2 separate regions of the Homo sapiens genome follow, and region 2 is linked to region 1. The links are contacts of gene promoters, found by promoter capture Hi-C in human tissues and cell types (Jung and others, 2019). All regions are on one chromosome and are shown on one strand. Each heading gives the region's core, a stretch centred on a gene start or on the middle of the fragment in contact. The rest is flanking DNA. Distances are from core to core; before and after follow the strand shown.

Region 1 (2,824 bases), core at 154-2,653:
TTGAGGACATTGAAGCACAGAGCAGTTGAGAAACTTGCCTAACTAGCAGAGTTAGAATCCAGACAAAGTGCTTAACCACAAGGCGATGCTTCTTCTATATATAAACTGACGGACGGATGAAATAGGCTGATTGACTGATGAGTGACTGACTGACTGACTGAATGAATAAATGGAAATGTGATTATAAATGTTGATTTTTTGCGCCTCCCGATTCCCCAGATCTACCGCGAGGGGGCGATCTCTCCCCGGTCCTGATGCCAGTCACTCAAGGCGCGCACTCCCTTTGCGTCTCGGGCTCGCGCGCGTTGCCGCGGCACCGGAAGTGACTGAGCTTGCAAGTTCCCCTGTCTCTTCAGGGGAAACTGAGGCCGGCTTGTTCGGGAGAGACGGCGCGAGCAGTCAGCCAGGTAGGCCGGCAGCCAGGTAGGCCGGCCCGGGTCCGCGGCGCGGAACTCGGCCGCGAAGAGCTCTTGCGTCTGGAAGCTACCGGGCCGATGAAGGGGGATGTGGCCCCCCACGGCTCGCGGGGCTCGCAGGTGAGAGCGCCGCCTCCCCTGTGCGTGACAGCCGTTGCGCCCAATAGGAGCCTTCGCCGTCCCGCTTCCGTGCCGGCTGGGCTCGCTGATTGGCTGCGCTGGGGCGGACCGCCGGGGGCGAGGCCCCTCCTCTCAGGAAGGTCTAGGGGGCGCCCCCGGGGGAGGGCGGTTGCCTAGCAACGGGGCGGTGGCTCGGCGGGTACCCGGCCTAGTGAGCTCGAGAAGCCGCTAGGCCGCAGCCGGCCCACCCTGGGCTCCGGAGAGGTGCAGCCCCCGGCCCCGGAGCCCTCCCGGGGGCGCCAGAAAGCCACTTTGGGCCTGTCCCCAGGAAAACGTGGTCTCAGCTGTGGGGCCGTCGAGCAGGCCTCGACCCCTCTTCCTGACCTGAGGAGAGGCCCAGCGCCTCACCCTCACCCAGTCTTTGTGCAGGGCGCCGGCGGCCATTGTGTCCGGGCGGGGAATGGAGGACCCGGCAATCCCCAACTGCCACGTTCTGGGCCTTTGGGGAATTCAGAGCAAACCAGCGGCATTTGTTGGGGGTCTCCGGCCTTCAACATCACAGACAGGCCTGGGGGTGGCCTTCCCAAAGTCAGATTGCAGATCTGAGGCAGTTTCCCCCTCCCTGCGTCCCTCACTGAAACCTTGAACCCCATTGAGAAGTCCCTTTAGGGTTTCGGACGCCTCCACCTCACCCTGGGCTGGTGCTTAAATAGAAAAAAGAAAAACAAAAACCAACTAAATCCATACCAGCCACCTCCGGGAGAGTACTCCTGGCTCCCAGTAGGAGGCGGAGAGCCAAGGGGCGTGCAAGAGAGAGGGGGCTGGGCTCCCGGGTGGCAGGAGGCCGCGGCTGCGGAGCGGCCGCCCTCGATCCGGGCGATGGAGGAGGAAGCAAGCGAGGGGGCTGGTTCCTGAGCTTCGCAATTCCTGTGTCGCCTTCTGGGCTCCCAGCCTGCCGGGTCGCATGATCCCTCCGGCCGGAGCTGGTTTTTTTGCCAGCCACCGCGAGGCCGGCTGAGTTACCGGCATCCCCGCAGCCACCTCCTCTCCCGACCTGTGATACAAAAGATCTTCCGGGGGCTGCACCTGCCTGCCTTTGCCTAAGGCGGATTTGAATGTAGGTGGTGCGGGGGAGCGGGAGTGGGGCGGGGGGGACTGCCCAGGGAGTGACTTTCCGAGGAAGGCATTTCGGAGAAGACGGGGGTAGAAAAGGCTGGTGGGAGATTCAGAGTCCACTGGTGCTTTCGATTTGACTTAAGTGAAGTATCTTGGAACCTAGACCCAGACCTTCGTAAGACCCACAAAGAAACCAGTTCTGGTACCTGGAGGGGGAATGGAATTTTTAGGGTAAATGGCATGCATATTAATTATTTTTTTTTCCTGAAGCTCTTTCTCTCCCTTCAGAATCTTATCTTGGCTTTGGATCTTAGAAGAGAATCACTAACCAGAGACGAGACTCAGTGAGTGAGCAGGTGTTTTGGACAATGGACTGGTTGAGCCCATCCCTATTATAAAAATGTCTCAGAGCAACCGGGAGCTGGTGGTTGACTTTCTCTCCTACAAGCTTTCCCAGAAAGGATACAGCTGGAGTCAGTTTAGTGATGTGGAAGAGAACAGGACTGAGGCCCCAGAAGGGACTGAATCGGAGATGGAGACCCCCAGTGCCATCAATGGCAACCCATCCTGGCACCTGGCAGACAGCCCCGCGGTGAATGGAGCCACTGGCCACAGCAGCAGTTTGGATGCCCGGGAGGTGATCCCCATGGCAGCAGTAAAGCAAGCGCTGAGGGAGGCAGGCGACGAGTTTGAACTGCGGTACCGGCGGGCATTCAGTGACCTGACATCCCAGCTCCACATCACCCCAGGGACAGCATATCAGAGCTTTGAACAGGTAGTGAATGAACTCTTCCGGGATGGGGTAAACTGGGGTCGCATTGTGGCCTTTTTCTCCTTCGGCGGGGCACTGTGCGTGGAAAGCGTAGACAAGGAGATGCAGGTATTGGTGAGTCGGATCGCAGCTTGGATGGCCACTTACCTGAATGACCACCTAGAGCCTTGGATCCAGGAGAACGGCGGCTGGGTAAGAACCAAGCCCCTTGTGTGTCCCTTTTCTTTGGCCTCTGGTCAGAGATCCCCAACAGCCCTTCTTCTGTATCTCTTTCTGTTGTGTTGGGTGATTGTTGGAGACGTTGATAGTTGAGGAAACCTGACTGGCCTCATTTCACCACAAGAGGTTAACTCCTTGGAAATACAAATGACCCTGTGCTTCAGAGATCAGGCATCTTTCA
Region 2 (2,761 bases), core at 137-2,636, 36 kb before region 1:
AAAATTCTATGTTAGCTTAAGCTCCAAGAGATTTTTTTTTAAGTGTAGCACATCATTAGTTTTACATTTATCATGAAATGAATTAGCCCATTTCACCAATAATAAACAAAGAGATAGAGCATTTAGGTAATTTTCCCAGAACCTCAGGCTTCTAAAACACTGTCCCACCATTCTATCAAGGAGCTTTTTTCTAAGATGTTTTCTTACCTGGTTTCAAAGGTGTGACAATAGCTTGCTGAAGATTAGCCTTTCTCAAAGGAGTTTTGCCCTGAAAAAGCCCTCCAGTTCCATTCTTCCCCAGTAACTTATTCTCCAAATTGGCCTTCTCCTCTGTGAAAAGGGAAGATCATCATTGTCTGATCAGCAAGGAAGCAAAACAAATCACTATCACGCATTTAAAATGCAAACTAAAGCTCCCTACCAGTACACTTCCAACTCATGTGGCAAGTACAAGCAAAGTTCTAGCAATCAAAAGAAAAAGTACACATTACACATCCGAGATAGACTATAAGAACAATCACTAAAAACTGGCAACATTGAACAATGTATTATAAAAAAGGAAAAGTACAGATTCTGCATTGTGAATAACTCCTTATCTTTGTTTGGTACACATTTAGGGTCATACAAATATGAACTGGCTTTATCTACTCCCTAAATATATCATGTTCCTCTTAAAGAAAACTGTAACCAGCCGGGAGCGATGGCTCACACCTGTAATCCCAGCACTTTGGGAGGCCGAGGCGGGTGGGTCATGAGGTCAGGAGATCGAGACTGTCTTGGCCAACATGGTGAAACCCCGTCTCTACTAAAATACAAAAAATTAGCCAGGCGTGGTGGCACATGCCTTTAATCCCAGCTACTTGAGAAGCTGAGGCAGGGGAATCGCTTGAACCTGGAAGGTGGAATTTGCAGTAAGCTGAGACCGCACCACTGCACTACAGCCTGGCGACAGAGCAAGACTCCATCTCAAAAAAAAAAAAAAAAAAAAAACGAAAGAAAACTGTAACCATCAAAAACTGTAGGGCTTACAAGAGATACTGTATAGTCTTACAGAGTTTCCTCCTCAGTGGGGTGGTGGGAGGAATAAGGGGTGTGTGAGGGTAGAGCAGAGCTAGGTTCTCTCAAGAAATTTTATCTTAGATTCTACTGTGCCCAGAAGTCAGTACAAAGCAGTGAAGGGTCTGTTCTACCAACAGCCTACTGATAGTTTCAGGAATGCAGTGAGACACAGCAATAACTACCCTGTGCATGTACATTCTGATTGCAACTGTGTAGAAAGATGTGACTATTTATTTGGGAAAGAAATTGGAAAGTAATATATTAAAACTGAGGTAGTTTTGTTAGCCAAAAGAACTCTGGCAAAAACAAAAAGAAAAAAAAATAAAAATGTTTTAAAACTAAGGTAGTTTTGGAAAAATAGTGGGGTCATTTTTTTTCTTCCAAATTGTATTTAACAGTATTCTTAGGCTAATCTTTTCTTTTCTTTTTTATTTTAAAGAAAAGCTTAGAAAAAGAAATCCTCAGACAGCCCAGCCATTTCCTTACAGTTCCAGTGAAGCAAGGGCATGGGGAAGATCCCCGCAGGACAGCTGGCCCTTGTATTTATTTACCCTTCCTCCCACACCACTTCCAACAGACGACTCCTCTCAGGATCCCCACTAGATGCCATTAAAGTCCTTTTCCAAAAAATGGCACCTGTCAACACATTTGGACAGTGCACTATACGGATAAGTACAGCTGCAATGGACTCACTTCTGTTCCCCACCACATATTCATAGTGATTTCTCCCGATAAGGAGGATGGAGACATGAGAGAAAGAATCAAAGGGGCCTCAACAACTAGTCTCAGATATTATTTCAAAGTAATGTAAAAATGTAACCACATTCTTACTTACCATTGGCCAAGCAATACTGTTTCTGGGAATGGGTTCTTAGTAGCATAATCCTTCCATTTAAAAATGAATTGAGGGCCAGGCGCAGTGGCTCACGCCTGTAATCCCAGCACTTTGGGAGGCTGAGGTGGGTGGATCACCTGAGGTCAGGGGTTCAAGACTAGCCTGGCCAACATGGCAAAACACTGTCTCTACTAAAAATACAAAAATTAGTTAGGCATGCTGGTGGGCGCCTGTAATCCCAGCTACTTGGGCGGCTGAGGCAGAACCGCTTGAACAAGAGTGGCGGAGGTTACAGTGAGCTGAGATTGTACCACTGCACTCCAGCCTGGGCAACAGAGCGAGACTACAGCCTCAAAAAAAAAAAAAAAAAAAATGAATTGAGGGAGGGGTGGCAGGAGGGAGGTGAGGGTAATTATAAAAGATCTTGACTGTGATGGTAGACACATAAACCAACACAGGTGATAAAACCACAGAGAACTTAATACACATACAAGTAAAACTGGAGAAATCTGAGTAAAACTGGTAGATTGTATGAATGTCAATATCCTAGCTGTGATATAATCTATCCCTAATGATAGTAGACAAAGTTTTTATGTGGCTGCCATCACTACAGACATATTTGAGCATGGAGTTTTGTTGAACACTGGTTCATCTGAACTTTCCCATAGGTCCCTAAAGCTTAAATCTGCCATTCTGAACTACAAAACAACATATGCTTTGTACTTACAATCCATTCCCCAAATACTGGGCATTTCAATTATTCCCATAATATCATGGATGACAGAATGTCTTGGTGCAGAAAGAAGTTGATATTTTAGTTCTTTTCTTGCAACCCCTTCTATTATTGAAAGGTCTTCAGCACAAAGC

What was found. The method cuts DNA at HindIII sites, captures the fragments that hold promoters and counts their contacts. A contact is called where the count stands out against the background at its distance.
Region 2: a fragment that was not itself captured here is called in contact with the fragment with the promoter of BCL2L1 in region 1 in 1 of the 25 tissues and cell types used here (mesenchymal stem cells).

Annotation. Positions count from the first base shown.
Region 1 is chr20:31,721,447-31,724,270 of GRCh38, reverse strand. It overlaps BCL2L1 (BCL2 like 1), which reads left to right and starts at 1,403. Exons shown (of 3, transcript NM_138578.3): 1 at 1,403-1,653; 2 at 1,923-2,616. The coding sequence starts at 2,053. RefSeq lists enhancers at 305-504, 274-1,028, 1,035-1,094, 1,029-1,784 and silencers at 535-984, 1,191-1,485, 1,385-1,494, 1,545-1,664. The HindIII fragment of the contact is 4,180 bases long and covers 1-2,824 here.
Region 2 is chr20:31,757,626-31,760,386 of GRCh38, reverse strand. It overlaps TPX2 (TPX2 microtubule nucleation factor), which reads right to left. Exons shown (of 18, transcript NM_012112.5): 4 at 208-330. Among named protein-coding and RNA genes, the nearest start is that of TPX2, 20 kb to the right of the region's middle. The HindIII fragment of the contact is 7,137 bases long and covers 1-2,761 here.